5 separate regions of the Homo sapiens genome follow, and all the other regions are linked to region 5. The links are contacts of gene promoters, found by promoter capture Hi-C in blood cells and fetal thymus (Javierre and others, 2016). All regions are on one chromosome and are shown on one strand. The core of a region is centred on a gene start or on the middle of the fragment in contact, and the rest is flanking DNA. Distances in the headings are between cores, read along the strand shown. Region 1 has its middle 17 kb from the start of ARHGEF3-AS1. Region 2 has its middle 50 kb from the start of ARHGEF3-AS1. Region 3 has its middle 52 kb from the start of SPATA12. Region 4 has its middle 48 kb from the start of ARHGEF3-AS1. Region 5 holds the start of CCDC66 (coiled-coil domain containing 66).

Evidence for each region. The method cuts DNA at HindIII sites, captures the fragments that hold promoters and counts their contacts. A CHiCAGO score of 5 or more calls a contact.
Region 1: a contact is called between a fragment that was not itself captured here and the fragment with the promoter of CCDC66 in region 5, in 4 of 17 cell types (naive CD4 T cells, total CD4 T cells, total CD8 T cells and 1 more). The highest score is 9.2, in naive CD4 T cells.
Region 2: a fragment that was not itself captured here is called in contact with the fragment with the promoter of CCDC66 in region 5 in 1 of 17 cell types (naive CD8 T cells); the score reaches 5.0 in naive CD8 T cells.
Region 3: a fragment that was not itself captured here is called in contact with the fragment with the promoter of CCDC66 in region 5 in 1 of 17 cell types (activated CD4 T cells); the score reaches 5.8 in activated CD4 T cells.
Region 4: a fragment that was not itself captured here is called in contact with the fragment with the promoter of CCDC66 in region 5 in 9 of 17 cell types (total CD4 T cells, naive CD8 T cells, naive CD4 T cells and 6 more); the score reaches 14.4 in total CD4 T cells.

What each region holds. Positions count from the first base shown.
Region 1 is chr3:56,921,383-56,924,082 of GRCh38, reverse strand. It overlaps a transcript of ARHGEF3 not described here. Among named protein-coding and RNA genes, the nearest start is that of ARHGEF3-AS1, 17 kb to the left of the region's middle. The HindIII fragment of the contact is 5,814 bases long and covers 1-2,700 here.
Region 2 is chr3:56,888,572-56,891,271 of GRCh38, reverse strand. It overlaps a transcript of ARHGEF3 not described here. Among named protein-coding and RNA genes, the nearest start is that of ARHGEF3-AS1, 50 kb to the left of the region's middle. The HindIII fragment of the contact is 835 bases long and covers 930-1,764 here.
Region 3 is chr3:57,007,429-57,010,128 of GRCh38, reverse strand. It overlaps a transcript of ARHGEF3 not described here. Among named protein-coding and RNA genes, the nearest start is that of SPATA12, 52 kb to the left of the region's middle. RefSeq lists an enhancer at 2,254-2,548. The HindIII fragment of the contact is 4,420 bases long and covers 1-2,700 here.
Region 4 is chr3:56,986,855-56,989,554 of GRCh38, reverse strand. It overlaps a transcript of ARHGEF3 not described here. Among named protein-coding and RNA genes, the nearest start is that of ARHGEF3-AS1, 48 kb to the right of the region's middle. The HindIII fragment of the contact is 9,338 bases long and covers 1-2,700 here.
Region 5 is chr3:56,555,725-56,558,424 of GRCh38, reverse strand. It overlaps CCDC66 (coiled-coil domain containing 66), which reads right to left and starts at 1,250. Exons shown (of 18, transcript NM_001141947.3): 1 at 1,172-1,250. The coding sequence starts at 1,182. RefSeq lists enhancers at 835-994, 463-1,134, 1,135-1,807. The HindIII fragment of the contact is 1,896 bases long and covers 1-1,464 here.

The sequences.
Region 1 (2,700 bases), core at 32-2,531, 370 kb before region 5:
GGCTTATTGTCCATGATTTTGTTGCAAAGTTTATTGTTTATCTTATACGGTCTCCAGGAAGCTGCATGCGGAAATCTCTCAGCCTTACCAGGAAGTCTGACTTAAAGGGACAGCCTCCAGGGCAGAGCCCTAACTGGGAGGAGGTGCTGAGCTTCCAACCAGGACCAGTTACCTTGGGTGAGAGTTGGAAGCCCTTTCCACCTGTCTCATTTGGTTTGCTATTTTCCAGTGTTTTGGTGATTCCTTTCTGATTCTGAATTAAGGGAGAAAAAGTGGCAATACCAATTCTTCATGTACACATGAACACACCCAAAACATAACAAAACAAAAAACCACTTTCACTGGTGTTTAGGCAGAATGAACACTCTGAGTCATGGGACACACATGCTTTTAAATCTCTTGGTTTCTTGGGGGTATTTTCATAAAAGTCTTGAACTTTCTAGATGGATACAGGGATTTCAGGGAAGTCAGCATTGTAAGATTAAAAAAATAAATATGACTTAAGTTTTAACTATGCTCTCATTTTTTTTCTCTATTGGAAGGAAGAAGGGAAATGGGAAACTGCTAGTTTCTATTACCTTTTTCTTAGATGCCCAGTTGACAGTCAAATCAGGATAGAAAAATCAAACTCTGGATTTCAGATTTGGTACTGCTTTTCAATTTGCTAGGAGGAAAATTTGAACCAGTTTCCATCGTTACACCAAAAAATTTCCTCTTCTGTTTGAAAAAAAATAAATTATTACTGTGCCTTTGTCTTTTAAAAAATATTTTATTATGGAAAAATTAAAACCTATACAAAAATAGAAACAATAGTATGATGGCCCAAAGTTCCCATCATCCATTGTTCTGCTTCTTTTTTTGAGACGGAGTCTTGCTCTGTTGCCCAGGCTGGAGTGGCACGATCTTGGCTCACTGCAACCTCTGCCTCCTGGGTTCAAGTGATTCTCCTGTCCCAGCTTCCCGAGTAGCTGGTATTATAGGCACACGCCACCATGCCCAACTAATTTATATATATATATATATATATATATATATATATATATATATATATATATATTTAGTAGAGATGGGGTTTTGCCATTTTGGCCAAGCTGGTCTTGAACTCCTGACCTCAGCTGATCCTTCCGCCTACGCTTCCCAAAGTGTTGGGATTACAGGCGTGAGCCACTGCACCCAGGCTGTTCTGCTTTTAAATACATATGTCAGTTAGTATCCTACCATCCTCCCTGCAACCTGCTAGGGATAAAGGAGTCATTCCTGTTTTACAGATAAGGAAACTAAAGATCAAGGAAATTAAGAGTGACTTACCAGGTCATTCAACTAGTAAATGGCAGAGCCAAAAATCACAGAGCCCAAATATTAATTTATTGTTAACTATTCCAGCCAGATGGTTTTTCCCAGAAATTATCCCTAAAGAGTTATCTGAAGTCAAAATAATGGTGAGAAACTTTTTAATAAGAATGATTCTTGCTTTTGTTATATATTTTTAACTTGGAAATTCGGTGTGTCAAGCATTGTTTTTTGATCTAGGCAGATTACTTTTAAAAATCCTCCTGAGTATTCATGTAAGTGTCAGAAATACCCCTCCCTCCCACCCCCATATTCAGATTTTCCACTTCCAACCAACTTTGACAGTGCAATGCCAAATAGTAAGTCTCATTTCCAAGTAAGGAAGCCCTTTGGCTGATAGATATCAGCTAATCAGTTTTTAAACTTTTTTTTCTTCCTAAAAATTGTGCAGAGGTCAGTAACCCACAGACAGGAGTTTCACTTTTAACTGACAGTGTAAGGAAGGAGACTTGACAGTTTCTTGAAAAAGCTGCACCCAGGGTGTTTATGTTTCTAAGAAATAAACTGGATGAGCTTATTTGCAAGCGGCCCCTGTGTGCTTCATGCAGAAATTCTTCAGGTGGCCCTTGCTTCTTGTGTTAGTCAAGGAGGCAGAACCGCAGCGGCCAGGCCGGTGGCTGCTTCACAGCATACATCAGCTTTCCTTTTTTTTTTTTGCATTCACTTTTAAAAATAGCTGCCCATGTATCAGTTGCCAAAATAATGTGAGGAATCTGGTTATAAAAGTTCAGATTTGTTTAGAGAGAATAAAGACAGAGCTCAGGCGATTGCTTGTAACAAAACCAGTAAGATAAGCACTCAAGATTAGCCATGACTAGCAATCGTTGAGACTTCCATGTTCCAGCATCATTTATTTTTAGTTCCTGTGTTGAAACCATAGATGAAGACTTTTCTATTTATTCATTCTTGACCTTGAGCAGCCAGGTCTGCTCCCACATTCTTCTCATCATTTTATAATCTTGTTGAGCTGGGATACTAAGCAGGGCTCTCCAAGAGCATCAACATTTTCAAATGTTCACAGTCTCTTGAGTTGAACCACCTTGAGTCCAATAGGCCTTGGCCTGGGAAAGTGTCTGGACACCGCTGCTCCATTTGTCTAGAGTTCATGGTGAAGCAGGCAGAGGAATTGTTCAGGTTTTACTTGGATTAACCACCCTTCCAGCTTTGAGGAGTAGATAAAGACATTCAATAAAAGTGCATGACTGTGAGCAACTCTCAGGCTCTAATTTGATATTCTTTTTATTTCTCACTGGCTTGCTGTGCTTTATGCCTCCCTGATAACCTAGTAACACCCAAATTTTGTTTTTCCTTAGTGTTACCTGAATTTGTTTTTGAATTTTTGTTTTTCCT
Region 2 (2,700 bases), core at 98-2,597, 330 kb before region 5:
TGGAGGCGAGAGGATTGCTTGAGCTCAGAAGTTTGAGACCAGCCTGCAAGACATAGGGAGATCTCGTCTCTATTTTTTTTTTTTTTTTTTACTTTTTAAAAATGGAGTTGGTGCTCCTTCTTTCAATTCTCTCATTCACTTCTGGAGCTTCAGACTGGAGAAGAACAAAATGTGGATCCTCTCCCTGCTAAAACGTGAATTTAGCAAGTCAAGTTCCAGCTAAGGGCAAGTACAAGAACACAAAATCCTTTTGCTAATCTTTCCGCAAAGAAAGAGCAGATGAAAGGCAAGGCATCAAAGCCTCTGAAACCACCAAAGTTGTTTGCCAGCAAAGAGATAAATCAAAAAGGTTCGAGATCTGGTTTGAATTTAATAATTACAAATGACTAATCAGGGACTATTTGCTGCCAAGTCAGGAGCTGCACTCTCTCAATCAGTACGTTTTTGCTGCTCTGGTCACCTGGTTATTAAATAGAAAAGCCCAGTGATTAAATAACAGGGTTGTTCTGACACTAATCAGTTCAATCTTGGCCATTTAAAATTAAGTCAGGCTTGCAGTAGCCCTTGTCTCTGTGAAAGAAGTGGGAACGACACAGTGCAAATGTGACTGAAGGTATCCTGAGAGTGTTTGTGGATAGTCCTCTGGGACCTGGGTAGTTAGAAAGAGTCAGGCAGCGTACCAGGTCTCCTGCCCATCATTCTGCAGGATCCTGCCATCTCTAATACCCTCCCTGCCTGACTCTCAACATCAAATAACAACAAAATAATTATGCCAGCAGTGACAGCAGTAGTAATAGTAATTACGGTAATAACCGCAGTAGCAATAATAATTACATTTTTCAAATCTCTTGCCATATGTCTGGCTCTGTTCGAAATATTTTATTTCTTTTAATACTTGAAATAACCCCATGATGGAGAAAACCAAAGCTTATAGAACTGCTTTATAGACACTGACGTATCCCATACACTTAGAACCTGCCTGGCACATAGTAAATGCTCAGTAAATATTTGTTGAGTGAATGAAGGAATAGAGAAGTAATTTGCCCAAGGTCACACCAAGTAGCAAAGGTGGAGCTGCATTTTGAACTGTCTCATTTATGCTCTTAGTTTCTTTGAGGTATGTAGGTAAATGCCTTGTGGGTCTTTTTATATTGTTTTAAAACACATATGATTTTAAACAATTATTTATGTATTTATTTATTTATTTATTGAGAAGGAGTCTTGCTCTGTCACCCAGGCTGGAGTGCAGTGGTGCGACCTTGGCTCACTGCAGCCTCTGCCTCCTGGGTTCCAGCGATTCTCCTGCCTCAGCCTTCTGGATAGCTATGATTACAGGCGCACGCTACCACGCTCAGCTAATTTTTGTATTTTTAGTAGAGATGAGGTTTCACCATGTTGGCCAGGCTGGTCTCAAACTCCTGACCTCAGGTGATCCGCCCATCTCGGCCTCCCAAAGTGCTGGGATTACAAGCATGAGCCACTGCGCCCAGCCATGAAACAAATATTTAAATGTATTTTACCTTATTTGTATGTATTAATTTAAAGGAAACGCAGATTGTTTTTAAACAATGTACAAAGAGAAATAGCATCATATGCAGAGAGGTCAGTGGTTTGGCAGTCAGGGTGGCCTCCAGAAAATCCTCTCTCCAGCACTCACTCACTTTGTGACCTTGAGCAAGTTACTAAAACCTTCCTGAGCTTCAGCGTTCCTCTCTGTTAAAATGAACACCACAAGGCTTACTTAAACCGGGCTGAGGAGAAGCTTAAATGGCACAATCCATTAAACTGAGAGCATAGTCCTTGGCTCATAGTAGGTGCCCAATTCCAGCGTCTGTTTCCCTCCACTTTTGTATTGGAAGGCACCTGGTGATTTTCTCAAAACCTCAAAGGAGGTCTGGAGAGGATGGAAGTTAAGCCAGGTAAGGACACGCTATTCAGGCTTGGACCACGGCCAGCTCTTCTGAGAATCTGTTGTCGGGTAAGGATAGGATCAGTGCTTTTCACAGAGAATCTTCCCCAGGACAACCGAAAAGGCAGTTTGTTCATGGGTTATTTACCGATGAGATTCAGATGTCTGCCTTGTGATATCAGAAGGTAGCCAACCCTAAAAAGAGATAGCCACAGAGTGTCCTGGAAACAATAATGTTTGTGAAAGTGGGTCGAAAGGTTCAGGTGAAGGTCAAGCTAGCAGGATCTCTCAAGCAGAGGCAGTAACGAGTCTCTGGCAATGTTCACTTGATCCTTCCAGGAATACCCATATCTCCATGAGACCTCCCATTGGAATATGCACAGGACTTTGCTCTATTGCAAATTAGCAAAGGGACCCCCTGGTCATTTTTGTTTTTTGTTTTTGTTTTTGTTTTTTTTTGAGATGGAGTTTCGTTCTTATTGCCCAGGCTGGAGTGCAATGGTGCGATCTCGGCTCACCGCAACCTCCGTCTCCCAGGTTCAAGCGATTCTCCTGCCTCAGCCTCCCAAGTAGCTGAGATTACAGGTGCACACAATCATGCCCAGCTAATTTTTACATTTTTAGTAGAGACGGGGTTTCACCATATTGGCCAGGCTGGTCTGGAACTCCTGACCGCAGGTGATCCAACTGCCTCGGCCTCCCAATGTGCTGGAATTACAGGCGTGAGCCACCATGCCTGGCCCCTGGTTGCTTTTTTAAGAAGCAGTGGTAGGGTTTTTTCAGCACTTGAG
Region 3 (2,700 bases), core at 195-2,694, 450 kb before region 5:
TGTCCCTGAATTCTGAATATCTAAGGTATGTGTGCTGTGGCGCCTGCATGTTAAAAAGAGACAGGAGAAAGCCCTGAGGTCAGAAGCCCGGGCTCAGAAGGCAGCTGCCTGTGGTCCAGTTCCTGCTCCACCACTTGCTGCGGTGTGACTTTGTTTGAGTTCATGGCCTTGCTGTGCCTCTGTTTCATCATCTTTAAAATGGGTATGACGAGAATACCCATGCTTTGCACAGAGTAAGAGCTTACTAAATGTTAGCTGTCATGCTGTGTTGCTGCTCACTATTATTATTATTAATTAATCATAACATGATTATTATTACCACCTCCAATGAGATGGGCTGGTTTGAGAACTGAGATTCCATCCTGTGTCTCTTGGCTTGTGTGGTTCCTTTAAAGAGATGTGGAACAAGGTCCCATCTTCTTACCCTGGCATTCCATCACACAGACACACACTGGGTGTGCTGGGAGTCTTCTCCACGCACTCTCATTTGTTTCCCGCAGCAGTGTGGCTCACTTTTTGTTTAATCTCCTCCAGCAACTTGGCAGGCCTGCAGCCACCCTTCACATCCTGGCCTGTCCAGCAGGCTGATAAAATGCAGATGTAGCTACCACCCCGCTCAGAGATCCACCCGCCTCTAGCCTCACTGTCATGGGTCCCAAACATGGATTCTTGGCTGAGGGGCTGAGGGACTGGGATAAGGGGTGGCGGGTTGTGCGAGACAGCCCATAGAGGTCAGAGGGTCCGGGGAACTTTAGAAGTAGCTCTAGGTTCCTTGCATGAGCAGTGTCAGAATTGCAGGCAGGCTGGGGGATAGGCCCCAAGTTGGTGGATCTCCACTTAACAGATTTTTTGGTACTATTTTTTTTAAATAAAAAATTTTGATTTCATAGTTCATTCTTGAGCGTTCAGCTGAAATGAAAAGTGAAAAAGTTTAAGCAATATGTTAAAGGGCAGGGGTGGGGAGGAGCCGGACCTCAGAATGGGAGCCTCAAACTTGAGGCTCACAGGGCCAGCCCATCATGAAAATGAGAGCAATGGCTTGGGCCATGCATTCTGTTTCCCAGGAACTCATGGCCCATCCTGGTTCCTGCCTCCTGTTGAGAATGCTAGCCCATGGGGCCAGATCTGCCAATTTCCCAAGATCATGTAGAAATTGGAATCTTAATGTAAAACTTCCCAATTCTCATGAGAGCCATCTGGACTTTGAAATGTTGGCAATTCATTGAAAAAAATTCTTTTAAATATATTTTTGAGCTGGAATTGAAAATCCACCAGCTTGCAAGGGACTTGAGAGATGCTGTGCTTGTGCCCCTAGGGTTTACAGATGCGGAAACAGAGGTCCAGAGAAAAATGACAGGGCCTGGTACAGTGACTCATGCCTGTAATCCCAGCACTTTGGGAGGCTGAGGTGGGTGGATCAGATGAGGCCAGGAGTTCAAGACCGGCCTGGCCAACATGGAGAAACCCCGTCTCTACTAAACATAACAAAAATTAGCTGGGTGTAATTGCCTATAATCCCAGCTACTTGGGAGGCTGAGGCAGGAGAATTGCTTGAACCTGGGAGACAGAAGTTGCTGTGAGCCAAGATCACGCTACTGCGCTCCAGCCTGGGTAACAGAGTGAGTCTCTGTCTCAAAAAAAAAAAAGGCTTGTCCGTGGAATCCAGCTCTCTGGAGCTCCCACTGCAGATCTATTTCTTCCAATTCCATCCAGACAGTGTGTTTCTGTTTGGCAAGCGGGCTGTTACGTGGAGTTTTATTGCAGGTAAAGGGGTCATCCAAACTGCTCTGTGGAGCTAGCAGAGTGACCACAGGAGCCCCAGGAAGCGTGAGCGTGGTCTTCATTCTCGGTTGAGCCAAAAAGGCTCACACGTTTCCAGACAAGGCTATTCTTGGCAGGGCCACCTCCTAGGGATTAATCATACTGAAAAGCTCACAGATTTAATTTTGCTGAAGTTTGATCTGTTCTAGGAAAGTACATGTAGCGTGGCTCAACAGAGAATTTTCTGCCCAAGGATCTACACGGTTAATATATTTTGGAGATCTCAGCAGAGCACAAAGCAGGCTAGAAAAATTCTCGTGGTGTTAGGCCAATCCAGCTTTGTCCTCTGGCCAGGAAAGTCCAGACTGCCCCTGGACCATGGCACAAACCCAAGGTGCCCAGCTAAGCAGCCCTGCCGGGAAAAGGTGATGAGAAACTTGCCTTTGCTAAAATAGTTGAGCTGCCAAATGATAGCCTGACCTAGGGGCTCAGAAATGAATGTTTCCTGTTATGCAGGAGGAGAGGGGCAGGGTTTGATTCTTGTGTTCTCATGTGCTTGCTCACTCTGCTCGTAATAAGGAGAGAAGTTTTATTTTTGCAAGCTATTGCAGCGTGAGCCCTAAACACCAAAGCCAGTCTCTTGAAGAAAACTGATCAGGATCCAGGAGCAGTTGTCAGGCCCCTGGAGGGTGACTCATGAGCAGCAGAGTTCCCGGAACTCACCCGTCCCTGGTCGGCTAGGAAGAGGCTGAGTGTGGTGGTAAATGTGGAGGGGCGGGCGCAACACTGCAGGCATGGCCTCTGTTTTTGAAAAACATTGTGTGTTCGGGTCAAAGCATCCATCCCCTGTGAGCAACCCAATTTTAAAAATAGGAGGTTCTGCAGAAAACCAAGATGCCTGCCTGTTTTCACCTGGAAGACCAAATTCTCACTTTCCAA
Region 4 (2,700 bases), core at 152-2,651, 430 kb before region 5:
GCTCAGCCACCAGGAGCCCCCTGCCCCCTGGGCACAGACCTGCTGGGGTTTTCTGCAAGGAAGCAGCAGTTTTGGCTCGGAGTGTCTCTCTGTACACTTTGGAGTCTAGTCAAGAGGACAGCCTCTTAAAATGGAAATGGGGCACTGCTGTGGGCCACCTGTGGACACTTGATTGCTCTCCCCAAGTTACTTGTATTCTCTGAGGCAGATGTCACGCTACAGCATCCACAGGGCCATTTCTAGTGCACCAGCAAAAAAAAAACGCAAGCGAGGAGTGGAATAAAATGCTCCTTGACCTTGTCCTTTCTTTCATCTCTTATCCTTTTAGGAAAAGAAGACTTTTTGTTTTCAGTTCAGATTTTAAAAAAGAACTAAATAGGGTACTTGAGACTTGCCACCCGGCAGCGGAGCTGGAGCCCTCCGGGAGGCATGGACGAAGTAATCAACTGAAGTTTTCTAATACCGGCCAGCAGAGGGCACTCTTCACTCACAATCGGTGCTGTCTTTCTCCTTGGAAACGTTCAGTGGCTGCAGGAGCCCTGGAAAAAATTGTCTTCCAGCTATTTGTAATTTAACTTTGAGTCCTCAAGAGGGTACCTTCCCCTTTTAGAGTTGCAGTGTTGGTGCTATTATTTTAACACCCGCATCTGCTGTTGTCTGGGCATCAAAGTCTAGAAAAGTCATGAGGGAGATGCATTCTCCAAGGTTCTGAGCACAAGATTCAGACAGAAACGGGGCCAGATGGGCACATACTGTTGCATAAACACCAATTAATTAATACTGGGCTCCAGATGAGCCCAGCCTGCCAAACTCGTGAGCTTCACACCTCCATGGTCTGGGCCCTGCCTCCCTTTGGTACAAAAATTAAAGAGACAGTTGCAAAAACCAGAGCATTCACTGGCCAGTCCTAGTAGGGAACAACACTGGGACATGCAGGGCACTGTGCTTCCCATGGGGACACTTTAATTCTTTCCTGTGGATTCTTCCTCTCCCTGCCAACATACTTTTAATCTTGTTGATGCTATTAATAATAATGACAGGTGACATTTATTGTGCTCTTATCATGTGCTGGGCACTTTTATGACTACTAGCTTATTTAACTCTCTTAGGCCAGGTGGGGTGGCTCATGCCTGTAATCGCAGCACTTTGGGAGGCCGAAGCGGGTGGATCACGAGATTAGGAGTTCAAGACCAGCCTGACCAACATGGTGAAACCCCGTCTCCACTACAAATACAAAAAAATTAGCTGGGCATGGTGGCGTGCGTCTGTAGTCCCAGCTACTCAGGAGGCTGAGGCAGGAGAATCACTTGAACCTGGGAGGCGAAGGTTGCAGTGAGCCAAGATCGCGCCACTGCACTCCCCTGCCTGGGCGACAGAGTGAGACTCCATCTCAAAACAAACAAACAAAAACAAAACACAAAACCAAAGAAAACAAAACAACCCTCTTAAAGTCCCAAGAGGTGGGGAACTGCTGGAACTTCTGAGGTTTTGTGAGGGTCAGGTACTTGCTGAGGGTCACTTAGCAGGTGAAGGAGGAGCCAGGTTGACCCCTCAGAGCTGTTGCCCATACCTGTCTGTCACCCATTTGTGGAGTCCCATTTATGCTCTGGACATCAGGTGGTAAGCCAGTGGTGTGCACACAAGACACAGTGCATCTCTGGCTAATTTTAATTATTTTAGTTTTGAATGTGTTAATCAAATACTTGAAAATTGAAAAGGAAGAGAAAGCCAGCCAGCCCTCAGAGAGCATACGCTGTGAGTGGAGGCCCTGAGGTGTCCATGTTCCTGAGGTGGTCTCTTAGTGGCTGCAGGATTGGCTGTGCACGGTAGGGGGAGTGAGGTTAGTGGGGCTGGCTCCTTCCTTTCCTTCCTTCTAGATCAACTCTGCTTCTACCAGGTTTATGTAGGATTGGGCTTGACCCAAGGTTTCTGCTGCTGAGAAGCTCTCAGCAAAACCCCAGTGTAGTGGCTCTTAGCTAAGGGCATGCCCAGGAGTGTTCATCACCCCGTCCCCAGAGTCCCTTTCATCTTCTGTTTCTCTTTCCAGCAGCTCCTTCCCTCCTGCCTGCAGATTGGGCCTGGAGCCTCCTGTGCCAAACACTTCCCTCCTACTCCTGCTCAGCCGTTGCATTGCCCAGAGCTCAGCCCAGTGCTGGTGCTGGTAACAGTTGAGAGACAAAGAGGGGGAGCCCTGAAGTCAGAGCTCTGCTCTCCCTGTGGCCGGCACATGATTATGCCCCAGATTCCTCATCTGCAAGATGGTGATGTTAACAGAATCTGTCCAGAAAGTATGGACTATAATGAGGCGTTGGCAACCCAGAGTTACTTGTTTGTTTGTTTTCTGAGTCAGGGTCTCACTCCATCACCCAGGCTGGAGTATAGTGGGACGATCACAGCTCACTGCAGCTTTGACCTCTTGGGCTCAAAGGATCCTCCCATCTTAGCCTTCCTAGTAGCTGGGACTACAGGCATGCATCACCATGCCCAGCTAATTTTTTCAATTTTTGTAGAGATGGGGTTTTGCCATCTTACCCAGGCAGGTCTCGAACTCCTGGCCTCATGTGATCCTCCCATCATGGCCTCCCAAGGTGTTGGGATTACAGGCATGAGCCATCACACCCGGCCTCCAAAGTGTTTTAAACATCACTTCACCCGCAGTAAGGATTCAATATCCATGGACCATCATTACTATTAAGATTA
Region 5 (2,700 bases), core at 1-2,500:
CTAACAATGCCATCAAGGTTAGTAACTGCTTGAGCAAAGAGTACCACTTTCAATATTTCAAATAATACATAGTGATATTTAGTATGGTGCTTTATACGTGCATATCAGAAGCAAAGGCATAAAGTAACAGTAGCCACTGCCAACAAAACTTGAACGTCTGTTAAGGTCCTAAAACTCCACTGAGAACAAAAATGGCAGCCCATACATACAGTCCATAATTCAGAGAGAGAAAATTAAATCCAGCAAGCCAGTCAAGGGAGAGAGAGGCTGGGAAAGGTCTGATTAGGAATGCGAAATTTGCGGTGTTGCTCAGGTAGGGGAAATCAAATTACCTCACCTTAACTATTAAAGGTAAAACACTGGAAAGAATAGGTTTTACGGCTTTCCTTATTGTAGGGTTATGAACAGTTCGTGTTTATGTTGGTGAAACGTCACCAAGAAAGAAAAGAGCTTCAATGGTAAAGTACCTTCAATGACGCACTGCACTGTAATCTCCTTAAGGGACACACTATCTTATTTATTTCCATATCCCCAGATTCTAAAACATAATAACATTTGCTGAACGATGTGTAGTTAGGTCTGAGTTTGGTGGCTTCTCATCTTCTCAAAATATCAAACTTGCGAGTGATGAAGACCATGCACCAGCCCTTTTTATTTATTCACCCCTACTTAAGGAGCGCCTACTAGGTGTTAGGCACTGGTACTACATCGATTTCTTGAGAAGCCTGGTTCCCCGCCTCGTGGGCCTAAAACGAATTTGGGCGTTTCAACATTCTGCAAGACTCCAAAAACAAGGTGGCGAAGAACCCGGGGCATGGGCCAGGAGTCCTCCCCAGGAGCCGCCACGCTTCCTCTAACTGTCTCGTCATTTCTCTCCTTTCCTCCTCACCTCTCTTCCCTCCTCATCCTGAGGTAAATAAGGGACCGAAAGGGGATCACTGGCAGTTTTAATGCTAGTCATTAAGTGAAAACGTAAGGTCTGTGGAGTCGCTAAGGGCCGACCCATCTGCCTCGATCTTCTACCCGAGAACTGGGCTCTGCCCCTCTCGGCGGCGCAGGTTGGGAACGTTCTCCAGTAAAGACTCCAAGGGACAACCCAGACACACATGCCTCCCTCTCCGCTGACGACCACCTTGCTTACCCCAGCTTACCCCAGCTTACCCCTGCTTACCCCAAGTTCATGGCCTGACCTCGCACTCTCTCCACAGAACGCTCAAGCCCCTTGTGTACGTCGGTTGCCGCCGCCGCTCAGCAAGCGCTACGCCAATTGGATATAGGGGTGCCGGCGAGCTGAGCAAGTGGACCAATCAGGGTGGGGCATGCTGGCGGGTGCGCTGAGCTGGGCCGGGGCTCCCGCGGGGACGGTTGCGTATGCCGTTTGTTCCCCTTTTGTGCCCCGTTTGTGCCGTTTGTTCCCCTACGCACAGCGGAATTTGGCCTGACCCGGCTTATGAGTCTAAAGCTTCGGTGGCGGAGACCTGCGCTTCTCGCAATTGTAGCCTTCCAAAGCGCGTACACAGACACACACACACACACACACACACACACACACACACACACACACACACACACACACACACACCTTTTTGGGGTCACCATTTGCAAGTAAGTTACAGACATTGTAACACTTAACCCTTTAACATTGCAGACATTGTAACACTTAACCCTTTAACATTGCAGCATGTATCTCCTAAGAATAGATGTTCTGCTACATAACCGCAGTACAATTATTATACCTAAGATCATTAATTTCATAATAATTCTCTTCCCGATTTAATTTCCCCCACTTGTCCTAAGAATATCTTATAGGCATTTTATTTAGAAAGCAAGAGCCAATCGCGCCACTGCATTCCAGCAGCTTGGGCGACAGAGTGAGACTCCGTCTCAAAAAAAAAAAAAAAAAATGCAAGAGCCGATCAAGGATCACACATTACATTTGGTTGTTAAGTATCTTTGCACACACTCTTTCCAGACAAAAACAATGAAAGGTATTAATTATTAAATGCCTGACAAACCTTTACTTTTTTATTTTTTATTGTTGTAATATGTGTGTTAAAATTTGCTATTTTTAGCCATTTTCAAGTGACAATTCCATGATACAATGTTGTGGAATACGCCAGTATATTTTTCCAAAAGCTTTTTAGTACCCCCAAATAAAAATTCTGTACCCATTAAGCAACAACTTCCCATTTTCCTCTCCCCTCAATCCTAAGAAACCTCTAATCTTATTTCTGTCTCTAGGAATTTGCCTATTATAGATACTTCATGTCATAAAAGTGGAATCATACAATATTTGTCCTTTTGTGTCTTCTCTCAAGTAACATAATGTATTCAAGGTGCATCCATGTTGTAGGATGTATCAGAGCTTCATATCTGTTTATGATTGAATAGTATTCCATTCTATGTATATATATACCACAATTCGTTTACTCATTCATCCATTAATAGACATTTGGGTTGTTTCCATCTTTTAGTTATTGTGAATAATGCTGTAGTGAACACTGATGTACAAGTATCTGTTTGAATCCCTATTTTCAATTTTCTTGGTATACACCTAAGAGTGGAATTACTGGGTCACATGGTAATTCTATGGTTAACTTTTCGAGAAACTGCCAAACTGTTTTCATAACAGTTGCAGCATCTTACATTTCTGCCAGCAATGTATATGAGGTTCTAATTTCTTCACCCCAACACTTGCTT